Regions from separate parts of the Homo sapiens genome. Here region 2 is linked to region 1. The links are contacts of gene promoters, found by promoter capture Hi-C in blood cells and fetal thymus (Javierre and others, 2016). All regions are on one chromosome and are shown on one strand. Each heading gives the region's core, a stretch centred on a gene start or on the middle of the fragment in contact. The rest is flanking DNA. Distances are from core to core; before and after follow the strand shown.

Region 1 (7,075 bases), core at 2,227-4,726:
GCCCTCCCTCCCTCCAATCTTTCCCATATGTAGCCCAGCCTGCTATTACCTTCTCCTCTCGGCTCAGGTAGTTGGACTACTCTCCCTCCTGCCTGTCTGACTTGTCTGAGCCCCATCTTCCTGACAAAGGTTAAGACCCCAGTTTTGCCTTCTCAATTCCCCTTTTTGGGAAGCTTCAGTGAACCCCTGACCTCCCACTCACCTTTAGAATAGCATCCAGAGTCCTTAGCACAACTTCTTTACCATCTGATGGGTGCTGATTGGTGACAGTCTTTCCCATCTCACTATGCCCATCCTAACTCATTCTTTGAGTTCCAGGCTTTATTTCCTTCCCTGAATGCAACAGTGTCTCCATGGCATGGGACATGTGTTCTCATACCAACCCCATCCCTCCACCTGGCCCATTTCTTTTTCTGAGGCTCAGCTGATTCTTTCTGCATCCCTTCTCACCTCGGCACCTAGTTCTTGAAATGCTGTTTTGAGAAACTAGCTTTTTGTGACTATAACTGGATAACTCACACTGTGCTGTGCTTTATTCATCTAATCACACAAGATCCAGGAGGCACCCAACGTTTTGACTTACCTGAAGAATGTGAGCGTACTAAGTTGACCTGAAGCTCCCTGCAACAGAAAGGTAAAAACCCTCTTAGATACATTGCAGTGAGAAAATGTTCCCTCAGCTGGGAAAATGAAGGGAATCATGGTCAAATCCTTGGAGGGACAGAAGGAAGGCAATGGGAGAAACCAGCCAGCCTGGGTTTTCAATACCAACTCACATGCAAGGTAACCCAAGCCTCATCCTCTGATCTGTAAATTGGGGCAAATGTGAATTATTTCCCTTGTTGAAAAATATTTAAAAGATGAGGGTAGGTGGAACGTGAACATATGTGTGTTTTAAACTTACTGTAGCTTATTGATAGGAATTACAGTTCTGGCAAATTTCCCAAAACCTGTAGTAATACCGTAAACAACTAGAATAAAAAGAGACATTATGCAATTAAATGCAGGGATTTTTGTTTGTTTATAAAAATATTTATAACATAAAGATAAAAAGATACCTGTTTTCTCTTTTATGATGCTATCTATGACCTCCCTGGATTTCTGCACCCTCTTCTCAGCTGTTGGGGTGAGCTAGGAAAATGTTGATCAGAACTGAGCACGTTAAAGACTTCCACGGGCAACAAAAATGGCCAGAGGACATCTTTCCCCTCCCTCCCCATACCTTTATTTTGTAGCGTCCCTTTCCCAAGTTGACCAGATCCTCCGTGGTCAGACGGTCTCCATCTAACTCGATGTACTACACAAAAGAAGGGGATCTCAGTGAGTCTGAACAGCTTGATTATTCTAACCAGAGTAGGGACACCTCCAACAGAACCAAACTGACATTTCAGAGATCTGATCATTGCGTGAAACATGAATATGCTAAATAAAAATGCATCTTGCATAAGAGGAGGCTTATTGGTGCAAAAGCATAATGCCTTTCCAAGCCCCCTTTCCCCACTACAGAGCTGGATAAAGCCCTGTGGTTGGTTGGTTTGTTTGTTTTGAGGCAGAGTCTCCAGCCCAGGCTGGAGTGCAGTGGTACAAACATGGCTCACTGCAACCTCTGCCTCCTGGGTTCAAGCAATTCTCGTGCCTCAGGCTCCTGAGTAGCTGGTATTACAGGTGCACGCCACCATACCTGGCTAATTTTTGTACTTTTAGTAGAGATGGGGTTTCACCATGTTGGCCAGGCTGGTTTCAAACTGATGACCTCAAGTGAACTGCCCACCTCGGCCACCCAAAGTGCTGGGACTACAGACATGAGTCACTGCTCCCGGCCAGCCCTGTTCTAATTGACAGTGTTTTCTCAGAAGTTTTCCTGGCTTTCCTCCCTCTTAAATAAGGGGCCTTAATTTTCTGAAGAAAAAGAAAGTGGTTTGAAGCTTACCTTTTCAGGCTCCCGGTACTTGCTGTATCTGTATCCAGGTAAAGGAACATATAGGGTGGTGTGGAAAAACCCCCAGCCCCACCATCTGCAGGAGCCACCCCCAGAGCAGACCAAAGAGCCTGTGGGAAAGGATACAGATAAACTCCTTCTGGTTGAGATGGAATGAAGTCAGGAGACATGGCATCACCCTCTATAACTAAAACAATGCACGGGAGACTCGTTACAGATCACATTGTACAGCCATGTTCCCCCTGTTAAACCAAGGAACGGCCCATCATTGGCCCATGAATTCTATAGAAATGGCTGCTTTAAAACTGCTTCAGATGGTTTCATGTGGTCTTAGCATCTTTATGTAGGAGGAGAGCAAAAAGCAGAAAGGTAGGTGTCAGGGCAGAGACCAGGGGTTTAGATGAAAGTTCAAGACAGAATTCCACTTCCATCCCCATTCCCAGCTTTATTTTCTTCAAAATCTGAACTGATGCTATGCTGCCGGCCTCCAGTCTGGGGGTGGGGGTGGATTCTTTCGAAAGGCAAAATAACCTCAAAATGATTCAGTCACTGCAAAGGGATTCAGACCTGCAGCCTTGAGTACCAGTCTAGTCTTTGTTACTTACTAGCTGCTGGAGTCTGGGTAAGTTACCTCCTCTCTGATTTCTCCTCCATCAGAGGTGGAGGAGAATCCTACCCATCTCACAGGGTTGTGTGAGGACTTAAGATCCCCAGAGGCGTGGCATGTGCCTGCACAGGGCCAGCCTCGGCAAGCCTGACCTCTGCTCATCATTTTCCCTGAGGTGGGGGTTCAATGCTGCAAAGACTAAGCCAGGCCAAACCGCACCCGTTCGCGGCCCTCTCCTGCAGCCACTCACCCACTTCCACGAACTCGTTGTTCTCTAGGGCCACCTCGAGCCGGTCCTCGTTGTCCAGCAGGCCCAGGCCCTTGCACCGGCGCACAAGGAAGTGCGCGTCATCCACGGAGGTGAAGCCACCATTGTCGGGCTTATTCTTGATATAGCGCCTCACGGCCTCCCGGCCCAGCCAGCCCACAGTGAGCTGCGCGTCCTGGCAGGGCACTGCCAGCCATTCCCCACGTACGTGCACCGTGTATCTGGGCATGGCTCCGCTGCAGCCTGAGGTCCTCAGCTGGTCACAGGAGGGGAGAGCTTTATGCAGGAGTGGCTACCGGGGTGTGGTCAGCTGGAAGGATGAGAATAGACTTTCAAACCACTCCCCCTCCTTCACCTTTACTCATTCATGCATTGGACAAATATTTATTGAGGTACCTGCTGTCCCTTTGGTTTTTGTAGCCGAGCAGGGGCAGGAGCAGGGGATGCAGACGGGTGAGCCTCCTGTCCACTTTCCATCCAGACCTGCTGCCAGAAAGGCCTGGGGTCTCCCACCCTGGGAGGTGCTGTTCTTGTCCCTGATGGCACCTACCTGCTGCTGGCCCCCTTTCTTCAGGGTCCCCAATTTCTCTCTCTTCCCTCGTTTCTGTCTGTGTTCTCTGCCATTAAGGGCAGCTTATAAACACCATGTTCCTGTCTTTATCTGAGATTACTCAACTGTAAAACGTGTTCTGTGGGCCAACTGTGACACTGGGAGTGTGGCAATCGTCACTCATTTGTTTATTCCACAAACATGTATTGAGCAACTACTTCCTGTCACCAGTAAGGTTTTCTGAAGCTTTCTTTCCACCAGGGAAGACTGCAAAGGCCAGAGATCATTTTCACAACTAAAGGTCGTCATCTGGGCAAATGAACCACTCTGACTTGGAGATTAGGGGCTCAGACAGCCGTGGATGAGAGTCCAGCTCTACTACTTATTAGCCTTGATTAGGTGAGTATTACCCTGTATTTCCTTATCAGAAGGCCTAGGGGCTAACTGCCTCCTTCCAGTATGTGCAGGATTTACCTGTGATCAAATCCTGGCTCTGCCATTTGCTAAGTGTATGACTTGTGGGCAAGTGATTTGACTTCTCTGGGCCTCAGTTGCCTCATCTGTAAAATGAAGATAATGGTAATGATGATAGTATATATGTCAAAGGGCTATTGGGAGGATGAAGTCAGTTCATATATGTAAAGCCCTCAACACAACACCTGGCATAGTGGAAATATTATAGAAGTGTCTGTGATTACTAGTATCTGGACACCAATACTCCATGTAACTATAATGCTTTATAAATGTTCTGTATGAATCATAAAGCTATAAAGTTCCATAAATGCTCTTTCATCTTGGCACATGGATATCCCTCACCCAATTAAGCTTCTTCACCACAGATAACTGCTCCCTGCACCCGCCTTATTACCATTGGTATTAAGGAACTCTGGATAGCATGATTACGGCATCAAAGATATGCAGATGCTATTTTGACTAAGCAGCACTTTCATCGTAAGCCAATTTTTAGAGATTTGATTATTGCACTAGAAAAATCCTGAAAAGTCTGTTTCCACTAAATCAGACTTCTGTTGGGAAGAGAGACATGGTTGCTCAAGAAAAACACCTATACTCATACCCAGAGTCCCTCTCATCTGCTGACAGCTTCCCAGGAAGCGTACAAATAGCTACCCTTCCTTGAGCCTTATTGAAACTTGCTCTTCAGATACCCACACCATGACTGCACCCTGGAATTTGTCATGACCTGAATTTGACACACTTAAGAAATCACCCTGGAATCTGTCACGACCTGAATTTGACACACTTAAGAAATCTGAAATTCCAATATTCCACCTTCTGACCACAACCTTCCAGCTGCCCTTTTACTCTAGTCACTGCCAGCCTTGGACCTGACCTCCAGTCAGTCTCTTCATCCCTCCACTTCCCACCAGCATCCTCACTTACTATCCTAGGAAGCTGGTCCCTAGTCGCTCACTGGACCACTCTTTCTTAAGCACTCTGAGATTCCTTTGCATCCCTAAACTTATGTCTACACTTGGAATAACACCCATCCCCTTAGTCATCACAAAAAACAGCCATCTCTTGGAAGGATTGCTTAAGCCTAGGCAGTCAATGCTGCAATGAGTTATGATTATACCACTGTACTCCAGCCTGGGTGAGAGCAAGACCCTGTTTAAAATTAAAAGAAACTGTCATATCTGTTCACCCAGGCAGAAGACACTGATAGAGAAAGTCCTGTGATCACATAGTTTGATGGTATTGCCCTTTTATTCCATCCAGCCCACAGTGACTTTCCAAAACTTTGACCCCTCTGCCAGGACCTTCTCGACATCCACCTCTAATTCTCAGAAGGAGACCTTACTTCCTACATCTGTGAGAAAACTGAGGACTGCACATGTGAACCACCTTAACCTTCTGCCCCACCCCCCCCCATTCATTCCTTGACTCATTTAACAAATATTTTTTCAACACCTGTTATGTAACAAGCTCTATGCGAGGTGCTGGGGATGAAATAAATAACAAACACGCTCTACATTCATGAGGCTTACTGTCTGGTGATGGATAAAGCTGTATAAAGATGACTAATAAGAGGTCTAACTATCTTCATGCTGCAAAACAACCCAAACTACTGCATGCTCCAGTTGACTGTCACTGCCGAGACCAGCTTCTGAGTAATTTCAGCCCAGGCATCAGACTAGTGAGGGAAGGAGCTTCCAGGTGATACCACCTCCCAGCCATGTAAGTCACCCCCAGCAGTTTGAGGATTCTAAACTCAGGCCCTACGCATTGTGGAGCAGAGTCTTCCTTGTTATTCTTTCTCCAGAAACGCACTTTCCAACTTCCTTTGCCTGTCTAGATCTTTCTTACTCCTTAAGCCTGTTTAGGCCTTTTCTTCTCCAGGAAGCATTCCCTAAATTCTTCAGTTGGGTTAAGTGGCCCTTCTCTGGGATGCCTTAGCATAGCTCTTCTTTAGTATTATCTAGGAAATTACTTGTCTGTGTTCATCCATAATTATGTATATATCCGATCTGGCACAAAGACATTTAGCATATGCTTACTAGCTGAACTGAAGAAATGTGAACTGCACCGAGCTGGCCCCTAGGTAAACCAGCAAGCAGGATTAAGTTTGTCTTTAGCGCCCTCTACCTTCTTCACAGCACCCTTCCATGCCACCCTTCAAGCATCCCTTGTCACAATTCACTTTCAGTATCACTAAGTGATAACTAAAAACGACATTAACTTACAGCTTGTCTTGTAAGCTCATAGGGCAGAAGCCTTAAAGAGCAGTATTTGGGTAAATGGATTTGCTAAAGTCTAATCTTAGAACATGATCTTATGCCAGTGATTTGAGCTGAACTCCCTTCTCTGTATTCTTGGCAAGGAAGGCAAGGGAGAGCAGAGCCTGGAGAAAGAATCACACTGCAGCATAGATAAGTGACCAAGAGGACAGAACGAGGCGGGTGGATTGCTTGAGCCCAGGAGTTCGAGACCAGCCTGGGCAACATGGCCAAACTCTTTCTCTACAAAACAAAAATTAGCCAGACATGGTGGTGCATGCCTGTAGTCTCAGCTACTCCAGAGGCTGAGGTGGGAGGATGGCTTGAACCCAGAGGCTGATGCTGCAGTGAGCTATGGTCATGCCACTGCACTCCAGCCTGGGCGACAGAGTGAGACCCTGTCTCAAAACAAAACAAAACAAAAACTGCTAGGGAGAGTGAGAGCCAGGGAAAAGTCAGGATTCCGGGAATAGGCAGGAATATGTCTCTTCCATACCTGTCCCACCTTGGGTGTTCACTCCTATTGTAACTTTAGTCACTGCATTAGCACTTTGAGGGGTTATTTGGTCAGGACACCGCTCCCCACCCCCACCCCATGCCAACAATTATACTCTAAGACACCATTCCTCTTACACAATTTATTTGACCAGAGGTGGACCCAACCTGGGTTAGAGTCTCACCTCTGGGAATTTGGAATTGTGATAGCCTCCCCATGTGGTCAGAGCTATTTGTAACAGTAAAGCTGGAGAGTGGCCGGCCTGTACAACGTGGACTAGAGAGGCAGAGGTGAGGGACAGGAGCACTGACGGTGCTGCAGTCCTGGGCATCAGACCCCTTCTGTCCGTCCCAGGTTCTGATAATCTCCCCATACCTAGCATCCTTAAAATAATCTTCCTTTTCCCTTTTTGACTTCTGGTCACTTGGATTGCTGTTACTTGCAATCAAAGAATTCTAACACAGCTATGGTTCTAATTAA
Region 2 (7,075 bases), core at 1,614-4,113, 2.5 Mb after region 1:
CCTAGTTGTATGGTTATATTTCATCATACTTAATCCTCCCAGGAATTCTATGGGGTATATATTACTGCATCCACTTTACAGATGAGAAATCTGAGGTTTGTAGAGTTTAAGTAGTTTGCCTGAGGTCAACTAACTGCTAAATGGCAGAGCCAGCCAAAGTTGTAACAAGACCTGCCTGACACCAAAGACCAAGTTCTTTCTCTTGTACCATTTAGGAACCCTCTTCCCCTTCCTGTGTTTCTACTTTTTTTTTTTCTGACAGAGTCTTTCAACCTCCCAGACTCAAGCGATCCTACCACCACAGCCTCTGAGTAGGTAGGACCACAGGAGCATACCACCATACCTGGCTAATTTTTGTTGTGTTTTCTGGTTTTGGGAGGTTTTTTTTGGTAGAGATAGGGTTTTGCCATGTTGCCCAGGCCAGTCTCAAACTCCTGGGCTCAAGCAATCCATCTACCTTGGCCTCTCCAAGTTCTGGGATTACAGGCATGAGCCACTGCTCCTGGTCTCTACATTTTTTAAGCTTTCACATAGCACAATACAGAGGTTAAGAACAAAAGCTCAGCCAGGCTTGGTGGCTCACGCCTGTAATCCCAGCACTTTGGGAGGCCCAGGTGGGTGGATTACCTGAACTCAGGAGTTCAAGGCCAGCCTGACCAACACGGCAAAACCCCATCTCTACTAAAAAATACAAAAATTAGCCAGGCATGGTGGCGCACACCTGTAATCCCAGCTACTAGGGAGGCCAAGGCAGGAAGAATTGCTTGAACCTGGGAGGCGGAGGTTTCAGTGAGCTAAGATCGCACTACTGCACTCCAGCCTGGGGGACAGAGCGAGACTCCATCTCACAAAAAAGAACAAAAGCTCCAGGCTGGGTGCAGTGGCTCACACCTGTAATCCCAGAACTTTGGGAGGCCGAGGCAGGAGCACTTGAGCCCAGGGGTTCTAGGGCAGCCTGGGCAGCATATGGAGACTCTATCTCTACAAAAAATTTTAAAATTTGCCAGGTATGGTGGTGTGCACCTGTAGTCCCAGCTCCCAGCTACTTGGGAGGCTGAGGTGGGACGATCTGCTTGAGCCTGAGAGGTCGAGGATATAGTGAGCCATGATCATGCCACTGCACTCCAGTCTGGGTGACAGAGCAAGACCTTTTCTCAAAAAAAGAGAGAGAGAAAAGAGTGCCAGCTCTAGGGATAGACTGCCTTGTTCGATGATCTTGAATGAACTATTTAATCTCTATTTACAAAATCTGGGACAAGTCACTTAACTTCATCAAGTCAGTTTCCCCATCTGTAAAATAAGAATTTTAATAGTAATATCGGCCGGGTGCAGTGGTTCATGCCTGTAATTCCAGCACTTTGGGAGGCTGAGGTGGGTGGCCTGAGGTCAGGAGTTCAAGACCAGCCTGGCCAACATGGTGAAACCCCATCTCTACTAAAAATTCAAAAATTAGCCAGGCATGGTGGCAGGTGCCTGTAATCCCAGCTACTCAGGAGGCTGAGACAGGAGAATTGCTTGAACCCAGGAGGCGGAGGTTGCAGTGAGCCAAGATTCTGCCACTGCCCTCCAGCCGGGGTGACAGAGCCAGAGTCCACCTCAAAAAAAAAAAAAAAAGGCATTTTAATAGCAATATCTACACTCAGGAGTTTCAGCGCTGATTAAATGAGATAACATCTAACACAGTGCCTAACCATTTGCTAGGAAACAGTAGATTTTAGCTCTATTATTCCCTCTCCATTTCACCTTGCTGGTTTCAGCCAAGTGCTTAGACTGGTCAAAGTAATTCTGAATCCCAGAAAATCCATGCAACTCCTGATGATCAAAAAATATTCTCTTTTAAGTGCTCACATATCATCTGCTTAGTAAACCATCCTAGAGTGTTTCTAGAAATTAACATTGAATTTACAAAGGTTTTTCCTACATCTAAGATAGAAGTCAGATTGTATCTAGAGTTCTTTCCCTCACTTTTATGAACTGTGACATGATCATATTGAAGAGGGAGAAATGAAGGACATTGTAACTCATTAAATGCATAAGACCCAGAAATAATAGAAAGTTGACTTCAGCTGTGATTCATCAGAGGTTCTTTGCATCAGTTCCTACCACTTTATCGCAATTCACTTCCCATATTGCTCAGCCCTATATATTTATCACTGGCAACCCACATTTGAGGCCAATGATTACAAAATGTTCTTTTGTACATCAACCCAGCTGCCAGGAGCCCACCCCCACCCCCACACTCAGCAGAGCTGGTTCAGATAACTAAGCTTTTGATATTTCAAGGCTGAAGGAAAAGGAACTCAATCCCCACATAAGTCCTGTGAGATATTTATTACTGTTCCCATTTTACTGCTGAGGAAGATGGGGCTTCTCAAGGCTATTATTCATATTTTATCCAAAGTCACAGAGTTATTAGGAATGCAGATCGCTGTTGACCTAGATCTCCCACCATGCCACTACAGGTTGAAGGAGCCACAGGCTGCAAACAGCAATGTTTTCCCAAACTGCTTATCCAGCCATGAACCACCCACAGCATTTTTGCAATATCTCCCTACCTCCTATGAAATTACTTACTTAATTTTTTTAATCAATGCACTTTTTGCTGCCTAAATAAATTTAGGGACTATTAGTCTAAACACTAGCAACTCAGAAATCACAGGTTTTATAACACCATCATGTTTATTTTGTGTAATATATTTTTAAATGGCCAGGCACAATAGCTCACGCCTGTAATCCCAGCAATTTGGGATACCAAGGCAGGAGGATCGCTTAAGGCAGGAGGATTGCTTGAGCCCAACAGTTTGAGACCAGTCTGGGCAACATAGAGAGACCCCGTCTCTACAAAAAAAAAAAAAAAAAAAATTGTTTTAATTAGCTGGGCATGGTGGTTCATGCCTGTAGTCCCAGCTACTTAAGAGACTGAGGTGGGAGGATTTCTTGAGCCTGGGAGGTTGAAACTACAGTGAGCCGTGATCTTGCCATTGCACTCCAGCCTGGGAGACAGAGTGAGACCATGTCTCAAAAATAAATAAATAAATGCATTAGATTCCTAGGGCTACCATAACAAATCATTACAAACCAAGTGGCTTAAAACAACAGAAATGTATTCTCTTACAGTTCAGGGGGCCAGAAGTCCAAAATCAAGGTGTTGATTTTCTGGAGGTTCTCAGGGAAAAATTGTCTGATGCCTTTTTCCTGGCTTCTTGGTGTTCTCGGCTTATAGGCATCATTCCAATCTCTATCTCCATAGTCACATGACCTTTTTCTCCCTGTGTGTCTTTGTGTCCAAATATCCCTCTTATTTCTTTTATAAAGATACCAGAGATCAAGATCCTTATTTAATTACATCTGCAAAGGCCCTATTTCCAAATAAGGTCACATTCTGAGGTTCGGGTTAGACATAAATTTTGAGAGGGAGATTATTCAACCCAGTATAAGTAAATGATGATTAAATCATTTGAAAGCTTATCCATGTACCACCTAAAATCATCTTGCATCTTGCCAGTGGTTTGCAAACCACACTAGAGAGATGTTAGTGAACATGACATTTCAAGGTGCTTGAGTCCCTCTCCAGTTTTAAAAGCAGCAGATTTTACAGTTAAGATGGTTGCAGTTTCTTTACTGCATTTGAACCAATATATTTTTGGTAAATCAAGAAGTTGATCCCCTAGATAGGCTCAATTCTCTGATTTTGAAAACTCAGGAAATGTTGTTTTGTTTTGTTTTTTGAGAGTTTCACTCTGTCACGCAGGCTGGAGTGCAGTGGCGCAGTCTTGGCTCACTGCAACCACTACCTCCCAGGTTCAAGCAATTCTCCTGCCTCAGCCTCCCAAAGTGTTGGGATTACAGGTGTGAGCCATTGTGCCCAGCAGAAAATGTTATTAATAATAAATTACTTCAAGTGCTATTTTAAGAAGATAGATGAACACTAGTTGATTGCATGACTCATTGTTTTCTGAGTTCAGTACATGTGCATGTACAGGTCTCTGTGGGGTTGTATTTGGGGATTTATTAAGTTTTCTCTCCATAGAGACAACCAAGGATGGTAAGGTGAATTTGCAATTTAAAGAAGCCATTAGGTAACACTGGACATTGTAAAACTCCATCTTGTGCAGCAAGGCAGGATGCCTAGGAACACTGTAAACAGGAACTCAGAGTATATTTATAGGAACCCAAAGCCCAAATGTTCAGTCCATGGAAAAAGGGTGAAGAGGAGGATTTGATTTTCAGCAGTCTTTATGAGACCTAGACCTCTGTGTGAATCACAGGTTGAGTAAACTTGGGCTTTTCCATTTGAGATAATATTCAGAAAACCTTACTCTTCTAAATGCACAGATTTCAGCTCTTTCTAAAAATCATGCACTGCATAATGGAAATTAAAGAACTCAGAAGACATTTTTATTGATCATTCTTATTTTTAATTTAGATGCTTTTTTTCTTCCCAAATATTAAACATTATCATTTATCAAGAACATAAGAAGGGAAACTGTCTTAAAAGGAAAACTATCAGATGGTGGAGATCAATCATTGTATAGGCTCCATGCAAAATAATATAAAAGATGCACAAGAGCAGATGCCGTGCTTGGAAACGACATCTCAATAAGCACATTTCCATAAACACATATGGTGTAGACTCTTTCACATACACACCACCTCAGTGTTTACTCTGAATTAAATAATTCAAGATGGTATAACCAGCTCACAGAAATATGATAAAACACTTTAAATAAACTGAGTTGTTGTCATGACAAATAGCCTACACAAAAGAAATAACAACAGTCACACTGATGAGAGGAGACGGGGTAAGTCCTAAAACTGGAAGGTCTCGTATTTGTTGGCAAAAACCAAAGTACAAGATGTTACTAACCTGTACCTTGTTTCCCCCACACAAACATATCTTAAAGAGGCAGCCCAAACTTTCATGTGTGAATGATTATTGGCCTTCAAATAGTATTCGTTACTTTATGACTCAATATCACCCAACACCATGGCCAATATAGAGAGCTTTGTAAAATTTCTCTTGCAGAACTTCCTCAGACTGACTACCCACCTTCATGTGACAATGTGTTCCTTTCCTTTTTAATCACTCCTAGGTTTTCATGATGTGCACTGACCAAATGGACAAGAAGGCTTTGGAGGGTCAAGAATGACCAACTCCAGATGAAACTGTATTGCTTTATCAGAAGCTTATTTTTCTTTTTCTTTGTTTTGTTTTGTTTTTTGGAGATGGAGTTTCATTCTTGTTGCCCAGGCTGGACTGCAATGGTGCAATCTCAGCTCACTGCAACCTCCGCTTCCCGGGTTCAAGTGATTCTCCTGACTCAGCCTCCCGAGTAGCTGGGATTACAGGCATGTGCCACCACACCCAGCTAATTTTGTATTTTTAGTAGAGACGGGGTTTCTCCATGTTGGTCAGGGTGGTCTCGAACTCCTGACCTTAGGTGATCCATCCACCTTGGCCTCCCAAAGTGCTGGGATTACAGGCGTGAGCCACCGCGCCTGGCATTGTTTTGTTTTTTTTTTTTAAACAGGGTCTCATTCTGTCACTCAGGCTGGAGAGAGGCGGCATGATCATGACTCACTGCAGCTTCAACCTTCTAGGCACAAGTGATCCTCCCACCTCAGTCTCCTGAGAAGCTGGCACTACGAGTATCCACCACCATGCCCAGCTAATTTTTTTATTTTGTTTGTAGAAACAGGGGTCTCACTATGTGGCCCAGGCTGGTCTAAAACTCCTGGACTCAAGTAATCCTCCCACCTCCGCCTTCTAAAGTGCTGGCATTATAGGTGTGAGACAACACACCTGGCCAGAAGCTTATATTTTTAACAGGAGACAGACAGCAGTCTGATATGCTTGTAGAGGGAAGGAAAGAGAGATGGTGGAGCGGAGAAAGGCCCACTGGGGGAAAAGCTGGAGAATGAGAAAGAAGCTGTGCTGGCTGGGCGCAGTGGCTCACACCTGTAATCTCAGCACTTTGGGAGGCCGAGGCAGGTGGATTGCTTAAGGCCAGGAGTTTAAGACCAACCTGGCCAAAATGGTGAAACCCCCGTCTCTACTAAAAATACAAAAATCAGCAAGACGTAGTGGTGCACACCTGTAGTCCCAGCTACTTGGGAGGCTGAGGCATGAGAGTTATTTGAACCTGGGAGGCAGAGGTTGCAGTGAGCCAAGATCATGCCACTGCACTCCAGCTGGACTCCAGCTCTAAAAAGAAAAAAGAAAAAAGAAAAAAAGAAGGAAGCTGTGCTACGGTTATTTATTCTGTCCCTCTTTCAGAAATTCAAAGTGAGGCCGGGTGCGGTAGCTCACACCTGTCATCCCAGCACTTTGGGAGGCCGAGGCAGGCAGATAGCTTGAGGTCAGGAGTTCGAGACCAGCCTGGCCAACATGGTGAAACCCCATGAAATTCCATCTCTACTAAAAATACAAAAATTAGCCAGGTGTGGCGGCATACACCTGTAATTCCAGCTACTCGGGTGGCTGAGGCAGGAAGTATCCCTTGAACCTGGGAGGAGGAGGTTGCAGTGAGCCGAAATCATGCCACTGCACTCCAGCCTGGGTGACAAAGTGAGACTCTGTCAAAAAAAAAAAGAAAGAAAGAAAGAAAGAAAGAAAGAAAGAGAGAGAGAGAGAGAGAGAGAGAGAAAGAAAGAAAGAAAGAAAGAAAGAAAGAAAGAAAGAAAGAAAAGAAAGAGAAAGAGAGAGAAAGATTCAAAGTGAGAGTCAGAGTACTAAAAACTGTATAGAATGACTGAGAGAAAGAAATCTATTTAACTTGCTTTAACGTATCCTTTCTAATACTGACTGACTGCAAAGCCCTTCTTCATATAAAAACTTTTAACATCCCAATTCTACAGAATGAGTTTTGGGGAATGTGGTAGCCAGCCTCCAAGATGACCCCCAGTGATTCTCACAGCCTAGGATTCATATCCTTGTGTGACCCCTCCCGCATTTAAGAGGGCTGACCTGTGTAATGAAAAGAATATTGCAGAAATGAGACAGTGTGATTTTTAAGGCTAGGCCATTAAAGATGTTGTGGCTTTCACCTTGCACTCTCTTGGCTTGTTCACCCTG

Evidence for each region. The method cuts DNA at HindIII sites, captures the fragments that hold promoters and counts their contacts. A CHiCAGO score of 5 or more calls a contact.
Region 2: a fragment that was not itself captured here is called in contact with the fragment with the promoter of HAL in region 1 in 1 of 17 cell types (M0 macrophages); the score reaches 5.7 in M0 macrophages.

Annotation. Positions count from the first base shown.
Region 1 is chr12:95,992,868-95,999,942 of GRCh38, forward strand. HAL (histidine ammonia-lyase) reads right to left here and starts at 3,477. Exons shown (of 21, transcript NM_002108.4): 1 at 3,211-3,477; 2 at 2,797-3,124; 3 at 2,066-2,126; 4 at 1,931-1,958; 5 at 1,223-1,297; 6 at 1,059-1,131; 7 at 905-971; 8 at 584-621. The coding sequence starts at 3,043. It overlaps LOC102723340 (a long non-coding RNA gene), which reads left to right and starts at 3,615. Exons shown (of 4, transcript XR_945237.4): 1 at 3,615-3,763; 2 at 5,464-5,560. RefSeq lists enhancers at 3,690-3,859, 5,084-5,378, 5,825-5,884. The HindIII fragment of the contact is 1,685 bases long and covers 1,924-3,608 here.
Region 2 is chr12:98,462,208-98,469,282 of GRCh38, forward strand. No RefSeq gene overlaps it. Among named protein-coding and RNA genes, the nearest start is that of TRD-GTC1-1, 38 kb to the right of the region's middle. RefSeq lists a silencer at 1,522-1,895 and an enhancer at 6,896-7,075. The HindIII fragment of the contact is 1,197 bases long and covers 2,266-3,462 here.